Linked DNA regions of Homo sapiens: region 2 is linked to region 1. Evidence: promoter capture Hi-C in human tissues and cell types (Jung and others, 2019). All regions are on one chromosome and are shown on one strand. The core of a region is centred on a gene start or on the middle of the fragment in contact, and the rest is flanking DNA. Distances in the headings are between cores, read along the strand shown. Region 1 holds the start of LACRT (lacritin). Region 2 holds the start of OR10P1 (olfactory receptor family 10 subfamily P member 1).

Region 1 (5,113 bases), core at 2,409-4,908:
TATTGCCCAGGTTTTCTTCTAGGGTTTTTATGGTTTTAGGTCTAACATTTAAGTCTTTAATCTATCTTGAATTAATTTTTGTATAAGGTGTAAGGAAGGGATCCAGTTTCAGCTTTCTACATATGGCTAGCCAGTTTTCCCAGCACCATTTATTAAATAAGGAATCCTTTCCCCATTTCTTGTTTTTGTCAGGTTTGTCAAAGATCAGATGGTTGTAGATGTGTGGTGTTATTTCTGAGGCCTCTGTTCTGTTCCATTGGTCTATATCTGTTTTGGCACCAGTACCATGCTGTTTTGGTTACTGTAAGCTTGTAGTATAGTTTGAAGTCAGGTAATGTGATGCCTCCAGCTTTGTTCTTTTTGCTTAGGATTGTCTTGGCAATGCAGGCCCTTTTTTGGTTCCATATGAACTTTAAAGTAGTTTTTTCCACTTCTGTGAAGAAAGTCATTGGTAGCTTGATGGGGATGGCATTGAATCTCTAAATTACCTTGGGCAGTATGGCCATTTTCACGATATTGATTCTTCCTATCCAAGAGCATGGAATGTTCTTCCATTTGTTTGTGTCCTCTTATTTCATTGAGCAGTGGTTTGTGGTTCTCAGGAGGGCTTTTTTTAAAAAAGGTTCTTTAAGGAAAAATGTATCTATTATTTACAGAGATTCAAGTATGGACTAGCAACAGCAGGAAGTCTGAAGCAGCGTGTTGGGGGGTGGGGGTGAATAATGTCACCTGACAACAAGAGATGGCGCTCTGAAACAGGGACCAGACAGAAGCTGCAGTCAGAGAGAAACAGCCATTGCCACACCATGCTGCATTAAGTATCCGTGGCTGTAAAAATTATTCAAACATTTGGTGGCTTCACACATGATTTCTTATCCACAGTTGTTATGGATCAGCAGTCCAGGTACAGATGCGCCCTCAGACACAGAGTCTCTAATGAGGCTGCAGTCAAGGTATCATCGAGGCTGCGGTCACCTCAAAACTCAGCTGAGGAAAGACCCACTTCCAAGCTCAGTCACGTGGTAGCTGGCAGGGTTGAGTTCCTCACAGATAGCTGGACTAAGGGCCTCGGCTCCTTACTGGCTACAGGCTGGAGGCTGTCCTCGGTTTCTTGCCACGTAGGTCTCTCCACAGGACAGCCTCACACATGGCCACTCACTTCATCAGAGCAAGCTGAGAAGATCCAGAGACAGAGTGTGTGTAAACAAGACTAAAGTCATAGTCTCAGAACTGACTACCTCATCACTTTGCCATCTTCTATTTGTTAGGAGTGAATCTCGAGACCCAGCCCAGTTAAGCAGAGGAAATTACAGCAGGGCACCAATGCCAAGACGTAGGCATCACCAGGAGCTATCTCTGAAGTCGTCCTACCACACATGCCAAAGCAAGAGAGGGAGCAGGAGGAACAAATGCCTTAATCTCTCCCTTTTCCCACCCTCCCATCTCCCACCTGTGTCTCCCATTGGCCAAACTCAACTCGAAGCTAGAGGGCATGGGAGCCCAGGTGATACAGCCCATAGAGGCATCCTTCCAGACCAGTGCAGAGATGAGAGAGAATAAACCTGAGGCAGAGGGGAGAGAGGTACAACGAGCAGCCCATGAGACAAGACACAGATCAGCGAACTGACAGTCATCATGGAGGTCAGATAACCTAGAAAACAAGACATCACACAGAGCAGCCCCTCACCCATATCCATGAGGTCCGTCAAGACATTGCACAGAGCAGCCTCTCACCCATATCCATGAGGTCTGCCTCTTTAATCTATGCACCCAATTCTTTCCCAGGCTCTATAATTTGGGGTAACATTTCTCTGGGCCCTGTTATAGAATAATGAAAATTTTCTATAAAACAAATGTCCTTACTTTCACCTCATCCCTATTTATGTAAATGCTTGCCTCTTTAATTACTGAGGCCAGGAGGAAGATTTGGGAGAGGAAAGGGCTATGCGGTGACATTTGGAAAGACCCTGCTCTGTGACAGTTCTAGTGTTGACGCCAAAGTTCTCATTTCCTCTTAGAAAAGTCTTGTGCAAATAGCATAATTTGCTCCTGTTGACTTTTTTAATGTGCTCATGGAGACTGCTCGGGATCTAGATCTGTTTGGGATCTGCAGGACTTCTCCTTCTGCAGTGTACACACACGTGCACACACGTATGTGCACATACCCAGGGCACTGGTGCCATCAAAACTTTCTCTTGTTCTTCAGCCTTCCCCATTCCAGGTAAGGCCACCACCACCTTCAAGGCTCCCAGGCCCAGACCCTCAGGCAGGTAGCAATTGCCAAGGCTTTAATGTCCCACCCCATTAATTTTATCTTCCTTTATCTCCTGAAAAGATTAATGTTCTAAACCCTGGCACCCAAAACACCCTCATGTTGAAAACTCTTCAATACCCCCTTCTCACACTCATCTTCAGAGCTACCATGAGGCAGAGAAGCCTCCGGAATCAGCCCACATGGGGCTGGGTGAATGCCAACACCAAGCAAGGGGAAAGTCACAAATTGACATCCAGCACCTTATTCTCCACCCTTCAGCCCCTCAACTGACTCCTGCTCCACGGCCCGTTCTATTAATATCTAGCATTTAGCACCAGCCTGGACAAAAACCTACTTGGAAAGATGGTACAAGAACCCCACACAACTCCATAGAACTTCGCTGTCTAAAAAAATGCTTTGCCGTATATTATCCCACTTAATCTCCACCACTATGCTGTACATAGGAGCCACAACTCCTAGACAACAAATAAAAATCCTATCACTTTTCAAATCCTAACATTTTCATATGACAAAGCCAGAACTCAAAATCCAGACCTCTAGAGTCCCAGATCAGGAAAGGAAGAAACGCCAAGTCAAAGAGAAGCTTCTTTAGAATAATCTGCTTTTCTGGATTATTCACACCATGGGTCAGCTCCCCACTTGAAGTCAGAACCAAGCTCCAATTTCAGTGAACCACCATCATGCTTTGACCAGGAGATTCTCTCAGAAATGTGGGGTCCCATTGAGTAGGCCTGAAGACAGAGATTGACAGGCCTATGTGAGCCTGGAGGAGTTCTTTTTAGGGGCTGGATAATGTCAAGAACAGAGAACAACTCCAGAGAAGGCACACACGCCTTCAAACCCATCCCCTCATGGGGAGAAAGCAGCCAGGAACTCAGGCCTCAAGTGTTCTAGGTGTGGTCTCCCAAGGAAACGGGCTCACTTAGTTTGGGGAAACCTTCAAACCCTGCACTGAGTCCTATGTAGACTGGGACAGAAGGTGGACAATGTAATCCCCTGAGCCCTCAACCTCCTCCTGGAGAGATGACAAGATTAAGATTTCTCTACCAGAACCCTCAACAGACACATCCCAGAATCTCCCCAAGTGAAATGTGCTCTACCTACCGTCCCTGAGAGCCCAGGGGTGTGAACCCAGAGGGCAGGTGTGGTGGGGAAGGGAGGAGGGAGAAAGAAAAGGGATGGCTGGGAGTTAGAGAAAGGCTCCTATCCAGGACCTGCCTGCAAGGATCCCAGGTATCAGCCAGCCCAACCTAGCCCTTGTTGACTTAGCAGGTGACAGTTTGGGGAAGAAGGGGAGGAGGATGCGGAAGTCACACCTCTCCAGGCTTGGTTCCCATTGGCCCTTGATATCCTTAAAAGGGCCCAGCAATTTCAGCATCCTTATTCCCCAGACCTTCTGCAGATTCTGTGGTTATACTCACTCCTCATCCCAAAGAATGAAATTTACCACTCTCCTCTTCTTGGCAGCTGTAGCAGGGGCCCTGGTCTATGCTGGTGAGTATGGCCTTTCCTCTGCGCCCCACAAGAGTCCTCCCAGTCCAAGGAGCCCCTCACTCCTGCCTTCACCCCTCTCCTCCTCTCTCAGTGCTATTCTGGTTTCCCTGCCTCTGCAAGTGACTCCTCTCCCAGTTCTCCACACGTGGCCTCTGCACCCCACTGGCCAGAGGAACCCAGAACTCTCTGGCCTCTGCCTGCCCTCCCAGCTCATCTCCTCACACACCATTGTTTACCCACTATGCCTCAGCTACACTGGCTTCTCTGGTGTCCCCTGCATGTAGTTGAGCAGGGTGTCCCCTACACGAGGGTGCCCAGGCAAGGAGTGGTAGAAGCTAAAATCTGGCCGACACTCTACTTGCCAAGCAGTGAGCCTGGCCCCTGGCTGTGTCTCTTAGGAGGAAGGGATGCCTTTTTTTTTTTTTTTTTTTTGAGACCGAGTCTCCCTCTGTTGCCCAGGCTGGAGTGCAGTGGCACGATCTCTGCTCACTGCAACATCCACCTCCTGGGTTCCAGCGATTATCTTGCCTCAGCCTCCTGGGTAGCTGGGACTACAGGCTCATGCCACCTTGCCCAGCTAATTTTGTATTTTTAGTAGAGACGGTGTTTCACCATGTTGGCCAGGTTGGTCTCGAACTCCTGACCTCAGGTGATCCGACTGCCTTGGCCTCCCAAAGTGTTGGAATTACAGGCGTGAGCCACCGTGCCCTGCTGGGATGCCTTTTTTGATCCACAGAAGCACTATTTGGGCCATGATGATCCTGCTGTTCCTTGAACATCAGGATCTTCCTTCTTGTCCTTTCCTCGTCTAGAATGCTTTCCCTCTCCCTGGCCCCTTCCCCCAACCAACTCTAATGTCACCTGGCCAATGATTTTTCATCTAGAAAATCTCAGTTTACATATAATTCCCCAAAAAGGCCTTCCATGCACATGCGGAACAAATCAGATCCATGTGCCCTTCTCGCACCAGGCTGCACGTTCCCTTCCAGCACTGTCACACCAGCCATTAAATAATTTCGTAAAAGGACAGATGTAAGCTCTGTCAGGGCAGGGGTCTTGTCTGCCCTCTTCAGCACTGCACCTCCATCTCTTGGCACAGAGCTTTGCATAAATGTTGTGTTGAAAGAATAAAGGGAATCAAGGCTGGGGTCTCAATCCTGCAAATCGCTCAAATATGGCCCCATAACCCCCACATACTGTCCTCCTCCACCACAGAGGAGGTTGAGCCCCTCTGACCATGGCCAGCTCCATGACAGACACCTCAGGGAAGCCTACCAAGCCAGGGGCCAGTCAGGAGGAAGGCACTGTTCCAAGAGACATTACACTTCTCAGAGGGGAAGTTAT
Region 2 (5,386 bases), core at 37-2,536, 1.0 Mb before region 1:
CTGCTTTCATGACTGACATGGACCTCTGGCTACCGGTGCAGCCATGGCAATCACTGTGCTCAGGGATCCAGAACAATCTAGAAGATGCTAAATAAATGTCCTTTCCCTAGGGCAGCAATCACTTTCATTCTACCTTGACCTAATAACCCATGCTCTGATAGTGAGTGTGGACTCTGGGATAAGAGGCAATATGTAGATTTATCTCTGTTTTAATTTCAGCACTTTCTTCCAGGAAGCCTTTTCCTTTGAGGTGCTGCATGATTTCTGTGAGAGTGGGGTTTAAATCCAGTCCCTGAAGAGTGGGAGGATGAGCACTGAGTGAGTGAGCAGACATCCGAGTCCCTTCAGGGTGAGGGGCGCTGCCTCTTCACCAAGTGTCGCAGGGCCCTCCTCACGTCCTTGTTCCGAAGGGTGTAGATGATGGGGTTGAGCATGGGTGTGATGACTGTGTAGAAGAGACTGAGGACGCGGTCTGTGGTAACAGAGGAGCCTGCCTGCGGCCGGATGTAGGTGATGCTGGCTGTTCCAAAGAAGAGAGAGACCACGAGCAGATGGGAGGAGCAGGTGGAGAAGACCTTGCGGCGGCTCTGGGTGGAGGCCATTGCTAGGATGGCACCCAGGATGCGGATGTAAGAGGTGACAATCAGAGAGAAGGGGATCATAATGAAGACTATGGTGGCTGTCATCACGGAGATCTCGCTCCTGTGCTTCCCAGCACTTGCCAGCCTCAGTACTGGCAGGATGTCACAGAGAAAGTGCGGGATGATCGGGTGGCTGCGAAAAGGTAGAGAGAAGATGAGGGAGGCATGGGTGGTGGCCGTGATGATGCCTGTGAGCCAGGAGGTACCCACCATGGCCATGCAGGCCCGTGGGCTCAAGAGGGTGGAATAGCGTAGGGGCTGGCAGATGGCAACATATCGGTCATAGGCCATGGCCGTGAGCAGGCAGCACTCCGAGATGCCCAGGACAATGAAGACGTACATCTGGGCTGCACAGCCCTGGAAAGAGATGGCCTGGGGATGCGGGGAGCCCAGATTGGCCAGGGTCCTGGGCACGATGTCAGTGGTGTAGAAGAGCTCCACCACTGAGAGTTGGCGCAGGAAGAAGTACATGGGGGAGTGCAGGGCAGGGCTGACCTGTGTGAGGAGGATGATCAGGGAGTTACCCAGCAAGGTGACCAGGTAGACCAGAAGCACCACCCAGAACAGGGGGCCCTGCAGGGCCTTGAGGTCAGAGAATCCCAGAAGGAGGAATTCAGGCAGTGTAGTATGGTTTTCCCCAGCCATCACTCCAGGCCAGAAGCTGAGGCACAGCCAAGAAGAGAAGTTATTTAGAAATAACAAGCAACATTTCTGTAATTTGGTAAAGCACTTGCCACACAGTTCCTCTCAAAATCAAGTGAGAGAATTAATACCTTTCTCTGAATGAGCCATGGGTCTCAGAGAGATTAAATAATGTGTCTGAGGTAATATCTAGAAAGTGGCAGGCCTGGAACTTGAATCCAGGTCTCTTGACTCCAAATTCGACGCCTTTCTCACTGTTTCCTGGGCTCTCGTCCTGTGTCTGGGGCCTGACTCTCATATGTAAAGACTCTAGCTCTGATCTTTGGATCTCTCTCCAGAGTGAGGGGTGAAGCAGCTGCTATGACCTAGGCCCCTTTGTACTCTCTAGATGGATGCTGAGGCACAAAAGAAACTGGGTAGCACCAGGGACTGTCCCGAACTGGTGTCTAATGTTCACCATAGTGAGCTGTGGGTTAAGAGTGTCACACAGTGATATGACTATTTGTGATAATACTGCCCAATGGTATCATTGGGATTCTGACACCTTCCCTGATTTCTCTGTTCTCCTCTTATCTGGGGCCCTGTGATCAGCTACACTAGCTGTTCTGTCCCAGCACACCCTGTTCTGTCAGGCCTCCATGCATTGCCATAGTGTCTCCTTTCAGAGGATATTTCTATTCTTCATATTAAAATCCCATCACACTTCAAGCCTTCACTCAAGTTTCGCTATCTCGGTGGCAGCTTTCTGTGATCCTCAGGCTCAGAAATAATTATCCATGGCATTTCAAGATTAAAAGTGACATTTAGGAACATATATTTCCATATGACAGTACTTGGATCTTATCTTCAACATTTTAGAAGGGTGCTGTGCAGAGTCTGTTTGAACATCTGCAGTGATGGGGAACTCACCACCTATTGAGGTAGCCCTTTCTAGCTATGGCCTCTTCTGCCTGTAGGAAAAGACTTTACTGTATTGGTCTTGGCTAAATGCTTAGTATTTCATACAATATTTAACTCCTCTTGCACCAGAGAGCCCTTGAGTATTTGAGGAAGGCACTTTTATCTCTGCTTTCATGAGATGTTGCTTGTCCTTTTGTCCTAGCACTTATTACTCCACTGTGAGATCCTGCAGGACGTGGTGGGGAGGTGGGGAGGCAGTTACCTATTTTAGCAGCTGCTAATGTTTCCCAAGTGCTTGGTTCCTGCCAGGCACCATGCTAAGGGCTAAACATTCATTAAATCATTGGATCTTCCTAATTACACTACGACATAGAAACCTTCATTTTCTCCATTTTACAGATAAGGAGAGGGAAGCCCAGACAGTGTTAAGTAACTTTCTCAATGTCACACATTTTGTAAGTGACAGAGTTTGGGTTCAAATCCAGGTCTGCCTAACCCCAGAGCCTGTGATCTTAACCACCAAGTTATCAACTGCCTTGGAGGTTAATCACCAGTCAAAAAAAAAAAAAAAAAAAAAAAAAGAAAAAAAAAAAAACCAAGGCCAGGCGCAGTGGCTCACGCCTGTAATCCCAGCACTTTGGGAGGCTGAGGTGGGTGGATCACGAGGTCAGGAGATCGAGACCATCTTGGCTAACGCGGTGAAACCCCGTCTCTACTAAAAATACAAAAAATAAGCTGGGCGTGGTGGTGGGCGCCTGTAGTCCCAGCTACTCAGGAGGCTGAGGCAGTAGAATGACGTGAACTCAGAAGGTGGAGCTTGCAGTGAGCCGAGATCGTGCCACTGCACTCCAGCCTGGGCGACAGAGTGAGACTCTGCCTCAAAAAAAAAAAAAAAAAAAAAAAAGAGGTTAATCACCAGAAAAACAAGCTCAGTACTTGGACCATGTCGAGTGTTCGCTAAACATTTATTAGATGAGTGAACGAATCTCAGTTATAAAGACAGAGGAACTGATAAATAGAACAATTAAGTGATTTGCCTAAATTTAGGCAGCTAGTTTGACAAAGACAGGAAACTGGACTGGACTTTCAGAAGTCCTGGTCCCAAGATTCACGGAGCTTTGATCACCCATATTGACCCACGCCATGAGGTTAGTCTGGCCATCTTCATATTTAGGAAACAGAGCCTCAAAGTTCTATCCATTGCACTTAACTTTCATCCCACCCTCACTCTGCTCTCTCAACATATTTTTTTTTTTGTGGCCTTAAACCATTTATTCTAGCTTATGTTTGGAGAGTGCTGTGTGCTGGGGATTATACAGTATATCAGTTGACCTTTATAACAACATTAGTGACAATTGTTATTTTGTCATTGCAGATAAAGAACCAGAGCTCTGAGGGTTTAAACGACCTATGCAAGATCACAAAGTCAGTGAACAGCAGAACCAGAATTGTAATTTTGAGCCTGAGGTATCAACCACATACTTACTATATGTCTTGTGAGGCCAATAGCCTCACTCTACACTTTTGGGAGATGAACTTGCATGTAGTCAGTTTGGACAGAAGGAGTATCTGAGTTCATTAGTCCTCTCTACTTTCGTCCATAAATCTTCATGACATTTTGGGCTGGCTGATTAAAAAGGAAAAAAAAACTTTTCAGATGTCCACACCACCAAGAAAACACGAAATAGATCCTGATGTTTTCAAATTTTTAAAATGTTGTTTTTTTCAATTAAAAATATTTAGGAAACATTTGGAATAAATCCACCATTATTCCATCACCTTAAATTCTTTTTTTCTCATATATCACTCTCAAGTCTTTGTCCCACTGCAAACCCATATTCTATGCTTGTAGTCATAGTGTATATACCTTATGTCTTCTTTTCCTTTTTTAATGTTTGCTGTAAGCATTTTGCCATGAGACCGCATGGTATTCTGAACAATCTTTCAAAAAAAATTCTTGTAGTAGTCCATTGAATTTCTCCACTAACATTTAACAAACGCTTCTCATCCTTGTGCACTTTACGCTGTCCCATCTTTTTTTTGCTATGGTAGACAATGATGAAAACAATATTTTCATGTGTGTCTCAGTTTGCTCTGTTAGCTTATTCCCTTAGGGTAAATTAAGAGTAATATTATTGGCTAAGCATGTGGACATTTTTATGGGTCTCGCTGTGTTATAATTGTTTTGGATTCCTGTAGCTGGACACATGAGTGGCAATACCAACCTTTCATCTCTTAGTAAAACAGGTCCCTTAAAAAAAATTCAATAGCTTTAGGGGTACTAGTGGTTTTTGGTTACATGGATGAATTGTATAGTGATGAAGTCTGGCATTTTAGTGCACCCGTCATCCAAATAGTGTACATTGTGCCAATAGGATTTTTTTTTTTTTTTCCCCTCAGCCCTCTCTCACCCTGTCCTCTTCTGGACTCCTTGACCCTCCCTGTCCTCATCCAGGCCTGTCCCTCCCTCCATACTCACCTCACCTTTTCCACACTGTGAGCATTTCTTCACTCTCAGACCTCTAATTAGATTTTGCCTTAAGATGTCGTCCGTGAGGGTGGAGAGGCAAGTTTCCCCCAGATTGTCTGTTCTTCCTTCCCTATTTCCACTCTGACTCTGATAATTTCCCTTTTCCTCTTCCCACACATCCTGACACAGTTGGGACAATCTTCAGAGAGACATTGGCCCTGAAGTCACCACTAAACTTTTCAAAGCCTCCCACAGAGGATCGCTGAGAAAGACAGAGTAACTGCCCGCAGGGTCACAGAGAGGGGATGAAGTTCTTTTTAAAAAACACTATTTTTTATTGTGGTGAAAACATATAACATAAAATTTACTATCTTAACCATTTTAAGTGTATGTCTCAGTATTGTTAAGTATATTCAACAGAGCTCTAGAACTTTTTCATTTTGCAAAATGAAAACTCTATACCCATTAAGCAATTCTCCATTTCCCCCTTCCGTGGCTCTTTTTAAAACCATAAAACCATCCGTATACCTCCAATAAGCCTTAGAGAGACAGGCAGATGGCAAATTGATCAGTGAATGGGCATGTGGCTTGGGGAACAGCTAACCTGTGGTTAACCAGCTAGATGGACAGAGGATGACCAGCAGGGTGTGGCTGGCTGGCTACAGGACTGGTTACCCGTGACCCCTGGATGCAGGAGATGAGGCTGTTAAAGGCTGAATGGAACAGAAAGCAG

The links. The method cuts DNA at HindIII sites, captures the fragments that hold promoters and counts their contacts. A contact is called where the count stands out against the background at its distance.
Region 2: a contact is called between the fragment with the promoter of OR10P1 here and the fragment with the promoter of LACRT in region 1, in 1 of the 25 tissues and cell types used here (mesendoderm cells).

The regions. Positions count from the first base shown.
Region 1 is chr12:54,633,440-54,638,552 of GRCh38, reverse strand. It overlaps LACRT (lacritin), which reads left to right and starts at 3,658. Exons shown (of 5, transcript NM_033277.2): 1 at 3,658-3,769. The coding sequence starts at 3,712. The HindIII fragment of the contact is 5,914 bases long and covers 1,584-5,113 here.
Region 2 is chr12:55,632,792-55,638,177 of GRCh38, reverse strand. It overlaps OR10P1 (olfactory receptor family 10 subfamily P member 1), which reads right to left and starts at 1,286. Exons shown (of 1, transcript NM_206899.1): 1 at 345-1,286. The coding sequence starts at 1,286. The coding sequence ends at 345. RefSeq lists an enhancer at 948-1,449. The HindIII fragment of the contact is 17,045 bases long and covers 1-5,386 here.